Linked DNA regions of Homo sapiens: region 1 is linked to region 2. The links are contacts of gene promoters, found by promoter capture Hi-C in blood cells and fetal thymus (Javierre and others, 2016). All regions are on one chromosome and are shown on one strand. Each heading gives the region's core, a stretch centred on a gene start or on the middle of the fragment in contact. The rest is flanking DNA. Distances are from core to core; before and after follow the strand shown. Region 1 overlaps ART4 (ADP-ribosyltransferase 4 (inactive) (Dombrock blood group)). Region 2 holds the start of ERP27 (endoplasmic reticulum protein 27).

What was found. Contacts are between HindIII fragments. The CHiCAGO score rates a contact against its expected background, and 5 or more counts as called.
Region 1: a contact is called between a fragment that was not itself captured here and the fragment with the promoter of ERP27 in region 2, in 1 of 17 cell types (total CD8 T cells). The highest score is 5.9, in total CD8 T cells.

Annotation. Positions count from the first base shown.
Region 1 is chr12:14,825,464-14,832,174 of GRCh38, reverse strand. It overlaps ART4 (ADP-ribosyltransferase 4 (inactive) (Dombrock blood group)), which reads left to right. Exons shown (of 3, transcript NM_021071.4): 3 at 2,713-6,606. The coding sequence ends at 2,804. Among named protein-coding and RNA genes, the nearest start is that of SMCO3, 15 kb to the right of the region's middle. The HindIII fragment of the contact is 502 bases long and covers 4,882-5,383 here.
Region 2 is chr12:14,936,958-14,944,218 of GRCh38, reverse strand. ERP27 (endoplasmic reticulum protein 27) reads left to right here and starts at 5,682. Exons shown (of 7, transcript NM_152321.4): 1 at 5,682-5,804; 2 at 6,167-6,267. The coding sequence starts at 5,711. ARHGDIB (Rho GDP dissociation inhibitor beta) reads left to right here. Exons shown (of 6, transcript NM_001175.7): 6 at 1,498-2,188. The coding sequence ends at 1,697. RefSeq lists an enhancer at 6,167-6,226. The HindIII fragment of the contact is 1,334 bases long and covers 4,577-5,910 here.

The DNA of each region.
Region 1 (6,711 bases), core at 3,883-6,382, 110 kb after region 2:
CTCTTAGATAGGATACCACTGAGAGGTTTTGGGCAGAAAACATAGAAGATTGTGTCAAAACTGACCTAGCAGCCCAGTAGAGGATAAACTGTAATGAGGTAAGCAGAGAAACCAAGTAGGGGGCTATTTCAATCATTCAGTTGAGAGATGAAGGTGGTAGAGTGGAGGCAGTAAGGTTTGACCAGATTCAGAGCCAAAAGGAGGTCCTGACACACTGGAAGTGAAAAGTGAGGGAAAAAGAAGAGTGAAGAATGACTCCAAGGTTTGGCTAGAGTAACTGAAAGGATGGAGGTGGCACTCACTGAGATGGAGAAGCCTGGGGATGGAGTAGATTTAAGAGCAGGAGTTTGGTATTTGACATGTTATATCTGAGCTGTGCAATAGTAACCCAAGCAGAGATGTTGAGTGGACAGTTGATGCACAAGTGTAGAATTCCGAGTGACCCAGGATGGAAAGATAAATTTGAGGTCAGTGGGTTATGGGTGGTATTTAAAGCCAAGAGACTGGATGAGCTCCCCACAAAGGTGTATAAATAAAGGAGAGAAAATGTCCAAGGATCAAACCTCAGGACACTCCCATTTTAAAAGGTCAAGTACAAAGAAGATGGAGAGGCCAGGTGTGATGGCTCACACCTATAATCCCAGCACTCTGGGAGGCCGAGGTAGGTGGACTGCTTGAGCTCAGGAGTTCGAGACCAGCCTGGGCAATGTGGTAAAACCCCGTCTCTACCAAAAATACAAAAAAAAAATAGCCAGGCATGGTGGTGTGCACCTGTAGACCCAGCTACTTGGGAGGCTGAGGTGGAAGAATCACTTGAGCTGATGTTGCAGTGAGCAGAGATCACACTGCTGTACTCTAGCCTGGGTGACAGAGCAAGACCCATCTCAAAAAAAAAAAAAAAAATGGAGAAGGAATGGCCAGTGAGGGAGGAGAAAATTGATAGAGTTGGTGTCCTAAGAGCAAAATGAAGAGTAAGTATCAAGGAGGATGGAGTGATTCACTACCATAAATATGGTTGATAGGTCAAATACAGTGAGGACTGAGAATTGACATTACATTCCAGGAAGCTCAACATATAATCTCTTAAATCAGACTCTCTAGGTTAAATACTGGCTCTGTCACTTACTGTGTGGCCTAACAGAGACCCTTAAGCTCTCTAAATACTGGGAAAGGGTGGGACTGGAAATCCTTGTGATCTTTAGCCTCAGTGAAGAGGAAAAAAAAACAAAAATCGTTTGAGAACCATTCTAATGATTGACCTGCTAAAGTGGTATTAAGGCTTCCTAAGTCTCTGTAGGGATTCATATAATTTGATTTTAACACAAACTTTGACAAAAGTTTAGAAAGACATATGCTCTTAATTTTCCTTGCCAACTCTTATTGGTGAAAATTGAGGTCTTGAAAATTACTGTATCTACTCCAGCTTGGTGACAGAGTGAGAACTCCAACTCAAAAAAATAAGACAGAAATTACTGTATATATATATATATATATATATATATATATATATATATATATATATATACATACATACAGTACACACATACACACACAGAGTAATTTCTGTCTTTTCTGTCTTGGAATTTCTACTTGTATACACACACACACACACACACACACACACACACACACACACACTCCTATATAGAAATTCCAAAAAACTAAAAAATGTATATATTGTGTGAAAATAGTAGAAATGTATTTCTCCCTCATCTGGTTATCCTATCAAACAATATGAGCAAATATTGAGGCAATTAGAGTTGAATCTCTTCCTCCCAGAAACATCTTTTCTACCTTAAACAATAGTGAAAACTGGCTGCAAAGAGATTCCAGTCTTTATTTAGACTATTTTTTACAGGGTTTCCATCTCCCATCTCATTTCAGTCCCCACCCCATTATATGGCCAATTATTAGTTATATCTGACAATATTTTTTTTTATTTTCCAGTTTTGCTTCCACACCTAACTGGCTGCTAACCTGTCCCACATTTCCTGTGAAAGGTGTATATGTGTAGTTAGAACACACACACACACACACACACACACACACACACACTCCAAACAGGATTGTGTGAATATTTCTTGCTCACCTTGTAATGAAAAATTCTATGGATGGACATGTAATACACAGACAAACAGGTTAGTGGTTAAGAATGCAGAATTGAGACAAACTGGCCAAGTTTGAATGGTGCCTATACTATTTACAAGATGTGTGACACTGGCAAGTTTTTTCTCATCTCTGTGTCACAATCTCATCAAGTAAAAACCAAGGATATTGAGAATAAAAATCTCATAGGTTTGTTGTGAGGCTTAAGTTAATATATAGCAAGGGCTCGAAATAGATCCTAGCACAAAATCAGCATTCAGTCTGTGTTAACTTTCATAATGGTGATGAAGATGATGATAATTAAGATGGGGATAATGCTAACAGTGATTATGCTGCTGGTGATGATAAAGATGGAAAATTAGATCTCTACCACCAGCTGGCTGGGTTACCTGGGAGTACATCTTTTAACCTCTTGGTGTCTGTTTCATCATCTGCAAAATAAGCAAGTTATGTTAGAAAAATCTAAAATAATGTGTTTTAAGTAGCTAACTTCAAATGTTTTTATTAGGAATTTTCTAAGTTAAGTAAGTGGATCAATGGATAGATGAGGTAGTTTTAAAAAAAACTCTGCTACCTAAAATATTTCCTTTGTTTTGTTTTTTACAGCTTCCAGCAAGAAATGCATCCCTGATCCTATAGCTATTGCATCTCTCTCCTTTTTGACCAGTGTCATCATCTTTTCCAAAAGCAGAGTATAAAGAAATCTTGTGGCTCCTTTTATTTAAAAAAAATATTTAAATAAAATCTTTTTTATTGGCCTTTTGGCTAGAAATGGACATTTATTTTCCAGGAAGGATGATCCCATCATACTTCTGCTGAAACCAGTGCATGGCCTCCTCTTTGCTAATTCTCTTATGCCTTTCCTTGTACCCCTTTGCCTTATTTCAATCTGGGCACCCTAAGTACTCTTGGGGAAATCACTCTGCCCAGCTAGCAACTGATGCAGAGCTGGCTCAGCCCACTGACTGTGATTGGCCTGTAACTCAGGCCTTAGCCAATCAGTATATTTCTTCTTCATGGACACAAAGATTCATGCTGGAATAGAAAATGATCCAATCAGAGCCTGTGAGATACAATCAGGGTACTTTTGTGGAATTGCAATTGGAAATAGAATGGGAGCTTCTTTTCTGAATGGATATTAATGAAAGCAGGGTAGGAGCTTATAGCTGCCAGCAAAGATCCCGCCACCAGGAGAGGAGACCCCATCTCCTTGAGAAAGGATCTAACACAACAAAGGAAGAGCTGATAAGTGAAAAGAAACTGAGACCTGATGAGAATGTATAAGCCTCTGGATCCAACTTTGCCTAAAGCTGAATACTACAAGATTTTTCATTACATAAATCAATAATTTATGTTTTTGCTTGCATAATTTGAATTAGATTTTCTATGTCAAGCATCAAGCAGTTGAAGTTCCAACGAATACAAGCACTCTTCCTTATTTTTTTTAATTTAGTTATTCTAAATAGGAACAAATCAAAGAAGATTAAATTAGAAAGCAAAGGACAAATTCTTCACCAAACAGAAAAGCTTTGAACCCCAGAGATTAACCAAGGTGTGAATTTTCTTCAGAGATTTTTTATGAGCATTCAAGATTAAGCTAGTATGGCCTCAGATGAGAAGACACATGGAAACTTGAGAAATAAAAGGGAAAGTTAATGAAAGATGTTAGTGAAATTTCATTCACCAGCAGTAATGGGTGTTCATGCATGTTCCTAAGACATTACAAAAGTTAAAATTTAAACTCATATGTTAATTCATAGAGAACTTGATGGCAAATTTAAGTCTTCATAGCAAATTTAAATATTAGGAAAACATGAGGGTATGTGTGAAGGTTAACAGAGAGTATGAGAGAAAAAAACACTGATTACAAACAAATATCAGCAATATAGCGAGGTCTCATTACATGTAAACTAGTACATGCAAAGAAGTATAAATTGTTGAATTGTATAGCTGGAAATGTCCTCTAACGCTTCCCTCAGGTAGTAATTTAGGTAGCGACATAAGGGATTATTTAACCCGATCACGATCACTGAAGACCCTGGTATCAGGCTAAATGGAGTAAAGATGAGGGCTAGCTCTATAATTTTGGATTTTGAAAGTCCATGCTCCTTATCCCTTTTAAGATTTGGATAAGAAACAGCAAAACTGAAAATCGGTCCATCTATTTACTCTCCATAGGACTTCCTGAATGGCCTGTGTCATGATCAAAGAAATGGAATGGGGAATAAGCTACATAAAATTACCTGGCAGGGAGTTCAGGCATCTCTGTACTATCATTCTTTAAATTGGGATTTGAAACTAACAGGGCCAAATCACCTCTGTCACCTAGTTGCAGTAGCCTCTACAGTCAATAAAGGAAAGAATTTCTGCCAGGCATGGTGGCTCACCCCTGTAATCCCAGCACTTTGGGAGGCCGAGGAGGACGGATCACGAGGTCAGGAGTTCAAGACCAGCCTGGCCAGCATGGTGAAACCCCGTCTCTACTACAAATACAAAAATTAGCCAGGCATGGTGGCACGCACCTGTAATCCCAGCTACTTGGGAGGCTGAGGCAGGAAAATTGCCTAAACCCAGGAGGCGGAGGTAGTGCAGTGAGCCAAGTTCACACCACTGCACTCCAGCCTGGGCAACAGAGTGAGACTCGATCTCAAAAAAAGAAAAAAAGAAAGAATTTCTACAAACAGACAATTTATGTGACTTGCATAGGATAGGGTCTTTGGCAGTTTGGTGGCTACCTAGTAGAGAGTCCTGGGGACATGGCTCTGGGAGCAAGCTTTTCCAGTGAGCATCGATGAGTCAGTAATGACATGCTATGTTGGTAAAAGCCACCCAACATCTTAAGTACATTTTTCCTGTGCCATATAAATGCATGTATTGAGCCATACTGTGTACAAAGCACTTTGGGGATTAAAAGTTAAGAACACTAGGCCAGATCTCTCATGAGTTTACAATCTCTTAGGAGAAATTAAGAACATAAAGCAAGCCACAAGTGAAATGCCAAAAAAAAAAAAGGCAAAAATCAAGTTTTCTGTTCATAACAATTCAAAAGAAAGATTTCTTCCAACTGAGGCAAGAAGAGACACCCGGAAGGCTTTAAGTAAGAGGCTGCATTTGAACCAGCCGTTAGGGCTCTAGGCTGGGAGAAGGGGTGAGCAGAAGGAGAAAAAAACAAGAAAGAGTATGTGCCAAGTGCGTAGTGCCCAAAACAAGGCCAAATATTAAATGCTTGGAGCTGAGAGAAAAATGTGATTCCTCTGGCCTATGGTTAGATAAAGCTTTCTATCAGAGATGATGTTTTACTTAGAGGAAAGCAGAAAATAGAAGCGAATACGGAATGATCGATGTATGTACAGCATAAGGTCAGGGAGCAGATAGGTCTGGCAGAGAGTGAGGGGTAATGTGGGCTGGAGAGGAAATTGGAAGCCACTCAGTGAAGCTAAAAAGTCAGCCAAAAGCATTTGATTTCCATGAGAAGTCATAATTTTCTGAGTAAGACAATTCTCCTAAAGCGTTGACTCTCTAGGCACAAGCAGCAATAGCATCCTTTAAGAACTCATTAGAAATGTGAATTTTAGGGCCTGATCCCAGACTACAGACTACAGAAATTGAACAGTCTGTTTTAATAAGTCCTCTAGATGATTCTGCTATACACCAACATTTGAGAACACTGTGACTTACACAATTATGATCCTTAAGGGAATAGCCAAGTTTCTAAAAAAGATAACTTAGTTCTAACTCCTGCTGCTGTTTTACAGATCAAATCTCTGGAGACAGAAACTATTCTCTTAAAATTATGTAGATTCATGAGTTTGGTTAAGGATAAATGTACATAGCTCACATCCCCTCAGTCTCTCCCTATAGTCCAAAGTTGTTGAGCAAGGAATCTGTAGAGTATTGATTTAAATTGATTAAGTTACATGTTTATGAAACTCTAAGAGACTAGTTTTAGAAATTTCACTGTAATTTCTGCTGGGATAAATTTGTTAGCCTGGGATATCTTCCAAAGATAAGGCGGATGCTCAAATATGTGTAAATTCATGCAACTGTTAACAGAGACTGTGCTGTAAGGAGTACTTATGTCCTATAGTAATTTTATTAAACAAATACATGTATGTCTCCTTTTGATGTGTACAGAAATATACTGTTTAATCTGAAGAAGCTGATTGAAACAGGAAAAATTTAAAAAGTAAAAACACTCAACCCATGTAATACTTTATTTTTATAACAAGGTGTTCTCTTTAATACGCCTATTAGATTATCCTGAAGTTCTCTATTTACTCTTACTTTAAAAAAAATCCAATGAAAGAAAATTTCAGTAAAGTTTGTTTTGCTAGAAGAATCAGGATTCTTGTACTGAGTTGTCTAATAATATGAATCAAATTGATTTACACTGAATGAACTAGCTCTTGATTTGGTAAAATTCAACAAGCATTTATTAGGTGCTTTCAGAAATACCAAGATGCAGCAAACACTGGCAACTAATAAAAAAAATTACAAGTATAATAGTATTTCATTTTTTTTAATAGTAAATGATCATGTGTTGTGTTGTGTGGCAGTTCACTTTTTCCTCCCTACTGATGATTCATTCAAACAGCTAGGCCATCC
Region 2 (7,261 bases), core at 4,433-6,932:
TTGTCATGCCTTGGGACCCTGCCTTCAATTTTCTTTCATTAATATAGGCAGGGAGAAATGAGAGGCGGGAAGGTGATGGAGGCACTTTACAGTTCCTTTCTACCTAAGGGTCTGTCCCCTCCAGAGGCAAGAAACAACAAAGCATGTCTCAGTTTCCACCAAATTAATAAGCAAGATAGGGGAGAAATTGTCTGATAAATCTGGATGACATAGAGGACCAGTCAATTTCTCAAATCCCAGAGAAGACCATTGACCTGAAAGATATTGATTGGCCTTTCCGATACCTAGTCTCATGAAAAAAAAGTTTAATTTCCTATTTTCCTTTGGGCATAAAGCCCGTATCACCTCACTTAGACAAAAGGACAGTGACATGTCTGCAACTGTTTTTTCAAACTTATTAGCAACACTTAGCCAACTATATGCCACCTATCTGCCTATGTATACTTTTCAATGCCCAACTATTCTTAATATATATTCCAGTTAACCACCTATAAATAAACTTGATTGGCTATTTTCACCATTTGTCCTAGTTCTTCACTTTTTTTTTTACCAACTTACTGCTGTTGTTGTTCCATCCAGTTATTCTATCCATGAATTCTCATCACCATCTGTTACTTTATCTCCCCCAACTGATATGTTCATAGAATGACAGTTTGTAGATAGAAGATCCTTAAAGTCCATCATATACACAAAGAAATGGAGGCTCAAAAATGTTATATGACTTAGGCCATTGCAGGACTGAGATCAGAACTGAGGTCTCAATTTGTCTGAGTTTTTTAAAATGGTGTAATCTGCTATATCTCCATAAAAAAAACAACAACAACAACAAAAAAAAAAAAAACAGGCTTAATCCCCATTGATTTAGGCCACTGGTTCCCCAACTTTACCTCAGAATCAACTTTGTAGTTTTTTAAAAACACTGATCCCTGGGACCCACAGAAGGTTACTGAACCATAGCCTTTGGAAGTAGGACAAAGGAAACTATATTATTAAAAGGCACTCCAACTTAAAAAATGTTTTAAAGAATAATTTTTTTAAAAAGATGCCTCAGGGCCAGGTGCGGTGGCTCACACCTGTAATCCCAGTACTTTGGGAGGCCGAGGCGGGTGGATCACCTGAGGTTGGTAGTTCGAGACCAGCCTGACCAACATGGAGAAACCCCGTCTCTACTAAAAATACAAAATTAGCCAAGCATGGTGGCGCATGCCTGTAATCCCAGCTGCTCGGGAGGTTGAGGCAGGAGAATCACTGGAACCTGGGAGGTGGAGGTTGTGGTGAGCCGAGATTGTGCTTCCGCACTCCAGCCTGGACAACAAGAGCAAAACTCCATCTTAAAAAAAAAAAAAGATGCCTCAGGTAAATCTAATGTTTATTTAGGCTTGGAAACCATTGCTCTTGACTTTAATCACTGTAGGCTGTAGTCCAGATTCTCCAGTTTGCAGTGTATGTTTTTCCTCTATCAGGCTCTTACCCTAATGAACTCTTCTTTCTTCTTAGTGGATAAAGCAACATTTATGGTTGGCAGCTATGGACCTCGGCCTGAGGAGTATGAGTTCCTCACTCCAGTTGAGGAGGCTCCCAAGGGCATGCTGGCGCGAGGCACGTACCACAACAAGTCCTTCTTCACCGACGATGACAAGCAAGACCACCTCAGCTGGGAGTGGAACCTGTCGATTAAGAAGGAGTGGACAGAATGAATGCATCCACCCCTTTCCCCACCCTTGCCACCTGGAAGAATTCTCTCAGGCGTGTTCAGCACCCTGTCCCTCCTCCCTGTCCACAGCTGGGTCCCTCTTCAACACTGCCACATTTCCTTATTGATGCATCTTTTCCCACCCTGTCACTCAACGTGGTCCCTAGAACAAGAGGCTTAAAACCGGGCTTTCACCCAACCTGCTCCCTCTGATCCTCCATCAGGGCCAGATCTTCCACGTCTCCATCTCAGTACACAATCATTTAATATTTCCCTGTCTTACCCCTATTCAAGCAACTAGAGGCCAGAAAATGGGCAAATTATCACTAACAGGTCTTTGACTCAGGTTCCAGTAGTTCATTCTAATGCCTAGATTCTTTTGTGGTTGTTGCTGGCCCAATGAGTCCCTAGTCACATCCCCTGCCAGAGGGAGTTCTTCTTTTGTGAGAGACACTGTAAACGACACAAGAGAACAAGAATAAAACAATAACTGTGTGTGTTCTGGCTGAGACCTTCATTTCCCTGCTTTCTTGCTTTGAACAAATATGATAACTGGATGGTTCACATTCATGAGTTCCCTCAGAGGGGATGGGGATGAGGAAAACACACTGGAGGAGATATTTACATCTTTGGGAACAAATTGGTCCCCTATTACACTATAATAGGCAATGCACATTCAGAATACAGCCAGTGGGAAATCTACATTTTACTTATTTAGTTAGCTATTTTTAATTTCGACTTTTATATTAGGTATAGAGGGTACATGTGCAGGTTCGTTACATGGGTATATTGCATCCAGGTAGTGAGCCTAGTACTAAATAGATAGTTTTTCAAAAAATGCCCCACTCCCTCCCTTACCCCTCAGGTAGTCCACAGTGTCTACTGTTTCTATGTTCATGTCTATGTGTGTTCAGTGTTTAGCTCCCACTTATAACTGAGAACATATGGAAGTTGGTTTTCTGTTTCTGCATTGCTTTGCTTAGGATTATGGCCTCCAGCTTCATCCATATTGCTGCAAAGGACATGATTTTACTTTTTTATTATGACCATATAGTATATCATGGTATATATGCACCACATATTTTATCCAATCCACCATTAATGGGCAACTACATTAATTCCGTGTCTTTGCTATTGTGAATGGCACAACAATGAACATACATGTGCATGTCTGTTTGGTACAACAATCTACTTTCCTTTGGATATATACATAGTAATGGGGTTGCTGAATCAAATGGTAGCTCTGTTTCAAGTTTTTTGAGAAATCTTCAAACTGGTCACTCTCCATACGTTCGTAAAAATATTATGCCTTGGAATGCTAACGTTACTCCTAAAAATTGGAGTACTCTCCTTGGCCTTACTGTAGAGATAAAAGGTATAGATGTCCTCATTACTTAGAGTTGCTTTCCACAGTGGCTGAACTACGTAACTGCTTAAGCTACATCCCCATGAATAATGTATAAGCATTCCCTTTTCTCTGCAGTCTCACAGTGTCTGTTGTTTTTTGATTTTTTAATAATGGCCATTCTGACTAGTGTGAGATTGTATCTCATTTTGGCTTTGATTTGCATTTCTCTGATAATTAGTAACGTTGAGCATTTTTTGTAGGCTTATTGGCCTCTTGTGTGTCTTCTTTTCAGAAGTATCTGTTTATGCTCTTTGCCCATTTTCTATTGGGGTTATTTGTTTTTTGCTTCTTGATTTGTTTAAGTTTCTTATGGATTCTGAATATTAGACCTTTGTTGGATGCATAGTTTGCATATGCTTTCTCCCATTTTGTAGATTGTCTATCAATAGTTCCTTTTGCTCTGAAGAACCTCTTTAATTAGGTCCCACTTGTCAATTTTTGTTTTTGTTGCAATTGCTTTTGAGGACTTAGCCAAAAATTACTTGTCAAGATTAATGTCAAAAAGAGTATTTCCTAGGTTTTCTTCTAGGACTTTTATGGTTTGAGGTCTTAAATCTTTAATTCATCTTGAGTTAACTTTTTATATGGTGAAAGATGAGGGTGCAGTTTCATTCTTCTGCATATGGCTAGCCAGCTATCACAGCACCATTTATTGAGTAGGGAATCCTTTCCCCATTGATTGGTTTTGTTAACTTTGTCGAAGATCAGATGGTTGTAGGTATATGACTTTATTTCTGGGTTCTCTATTCTGTTCCATTGGTCTATGTGTTTGCTTTTGTACCAGTACCATGCTATTTTGGTTACTGTAGCCTTGTAGTATAGTTTGAAGTTGGGTAATGTGACGCCTCTGTTTTTGTTCTTTTTGATTAGGATTGCTTTAGCTAGTCAGACTCTTTTTTGGTTCCATATAAATTTTAGAATAGTTTCTTTTCTAATTCTGTGAAGAATGACGTTGGTAGTTAGATAGGAATAGCACTGAATCTGTTAATTTCTTTGGGCAGTATGGCCATTTTGAAGATACTGATTCTTCCTACCCATGAGCATGGAGTGTTTTTTCATTTGTGTCACCTCTGATTTCTTTCAAAAGTGTTTTGTATTTCTCCTTGTAGAGATATTTTACCTCCTTGGTTATCTGTATTCCTAGGCATTTCATTTTATTTGTAGCTATTGTAAATGAAATTGTGTTCTTGATTTTACTCTCAGCCTGGACATTATTGCTGTATAGAAATGCCACTAATTTTTGTACACTTATTTTTTTCCTGATACCTTACTGAAATCATTCATCAGTTCCAGTAGCCTTTTGGCAGAGTCTTCAGAGCTTTCTAGGCATACAATCATATTGTCAACAAGGAGAAATAGTTTGACTTTTTCTTTTCCTGTTTAGATGCCTTTTATGTCTTCCTCTTGCCTAATTGCCCTGGCTAGGGCTTCCTAATTTCTTTTGTAATATTTTCACATGAAAATTCTCCTAAGCTTAAAACTACATATCCCAATGCCTGTGGAAATCTCATCTTGGACTTCCTCAGACACTTGTGAGCAAAATCAAACTTCATCTCATTCTTCTGCTTAAGACTTTTCAGTGGTTCCCATCACCTACAGAATAAAATTGATGCTCCCGCGCTTAGTGTATCATATAAAGCCTGCTGTGAGCTGGTCCCAACATGCCTTTCTGTCCACATGTATCACTTCCTTCCTTTTCATCATTCTCAATTACTAGTAATTCTGTCACACATTATATTTGCATATCTGTGCTTTGGTTCTTTTTTTTTTTTTTTTTTTTTTTTGAGACGGAGTCTCGCTCTGTCGCCCAGGCTGGAGTGCAGTGGTGCTATTTCGGCTCACTGCAAGCTCTGCCTCCCGGGTTCAGGCCATCCTCCTGCCTCAGCCTCCCGAGTAGCTGGGACTACAGGCGCCCGCCACCACACCTGGCTAATTTTTTGTATTTTTAGTAGAGATGGGGTTTCACCATGTTAGCCAGGATGGTCTCAATCTCCTGACCTCGTGATCCACCTGCCTCAGCCTCCCAAAGTTCTGGGATTACAGGTATGAGCCACCACGCCCGGCCTGTGCTTTAGTTCTTTACATGAAACTCCCTTTCTACCTTGTGTTGCCTGGCAAAATCTTACTTACCCAGAACTCTGCTCCGGCATCCTCCGCAGGAAGAACACTTTCATTGAACCCTAGCATTGTCCCTAATACCCTTAATATGTATTGTCATAGCACCCTATGAATTTTTCTATATCACTTTCCATCTTATATTTAAATAATCTTTTTACTTGCCCATCTCTCCCACTGATAATCTAAGCTGGCAGAGGCTGGATCAGATCATAATTATCTTTCTATTCTTAGCGCTAGGATCAATGCCTGGCATAGCATATTTACATTTTTTATTTAAATAAACTGACCTGACTTTCTTCTGGTTGGATATGTTCTGAGTCCCTATTACTAACCTTGGTCTTTTATCTCAGAAGTTGAAGGCTCCCCTGGAGCCAGCTGCAAAGTTCCCAAAGCCCTAACAACCCCACAGCCAATCAGCTACAGAGTAGGCTGCCCTGAGTCGGCCTCCCCAACACAAAGTCCAGGGTTGGAGCAGGAGCAGGAGAGGGACAATGGAAGCTGCCCCGTCCAGGTTCATGTTCCTCTTATTTCTCCTCACGTGTGAGCTGGCTGCAGAAGTTGCTGCAGAAGTTGAGAAATCCTCAGGTAAAAGAAAAATGTAGTTGGGTGGCTATAGTGTGAAAGTGTTATTAGGAGAAGGAAAGGGAGCATGGTGGTTCTCTGGGTACTTTTCCTCCACACCTAGAAAGCTTTCCAGGAAATCCTGGATAAGTGCATTTTGCCTGGTAGAGAGTAGGGAAGTCTGGCAGTATCCTTCAGAGACAGACCATCAGTAGGGTCACCTTCCATATGTTAGTAAAAATATTATGCCTTGGAATGCCAACAGTACTCCTATAAATTGTGCTCTTCTTGCCCTTAGTATAGAGATAAAAGGTATAGATGCCCTCATTATTTAGAGCTGCTTCTTCTTGCCTCAGTACCCTGACATCTTCTGCTTCTCTCTCTAGATGGTCCTGGTGCTGCCCAGGAACCCACGTGGCTCACAGATGTCCCAGCTGCCATGGAATTCATTGCTGCCACTGAGGTGGCTGTCATAGGCTTCTTCCAGGTTAGTTCCCTACTTGCAATTCCCCCAAGAGCCAGAAATGTTCTACCTTAAGGGAACCACAGCAGCCACCTGCTGCTGGCAGATGGCACTGCATTAGAAGTGGGGGTAAAGGGAGACAGCCACCCAGTTTGATTTCATCTTGTCCATTGGGACCTCTTATTTTCAAGACATTCCCAGTCTCTAAATTATATCTTTCTCATACTTACTTCAAGAGTTCTGAGCCTGTGGGCTGCATCTCCTCATCTATGGATGCTTTGAAGCTCAAGTCAGTATCTGCAGAAAGAATGCCTTCATGGAACCCCACCATTGTCCTAAACACATTTGGTCTATACTCTCATAGCACCCTATGAATAGGCAGGGGCCAGAGTGAACCCAATTTATATCATCCAGCAACACTGTTTACAGGATGCCAAACATCCTGGACATTAGTCAGTGCACAGCCTTTTAAAGCCTTTCCCCCAAATATGGTAGACTCTCCTTCTTTCTCTTTGCCTTGTCTGAAATGTTGGAAAATGATGGCATTTTGTATATTCAAGGTGTTAACCTCCATCTTCCAGATTAGCTTCTTGACTAAGAAAGGCAGCCATAAATGAGACTGCCTCATTCCAGCATTTTCATCTTTCTCTGGTGGTAGCATCTGGAAATCCTCACAGCTGATCAAGCCCCTACTCTCTCATAGCAGACCTTCTTGTCTGTTTCCATTTCTCAGTTACAACTCCTGATTACCCTGTCAGTTCTGCGTACACAGTTGGAAATCACTGCAATGAGATGCAAGTCAGGGAGAAAGACAGGGACAACATTTTTCAGGAATGAGAAATCTGAGCTGTAGACAAAAACACCGTCAGAAAGATGGGGAAGGGGCAAGAGCATGGAATTGGAGGAGTGTGCAATAACTTAAACAGCCGCCAGATGCCATCATTTTATCCTCCAGCAATTCCATCTGAAGGAGCAGAATAAGAGAGGAGGCCTCAATTAATTATTGTTCATGGCCTCT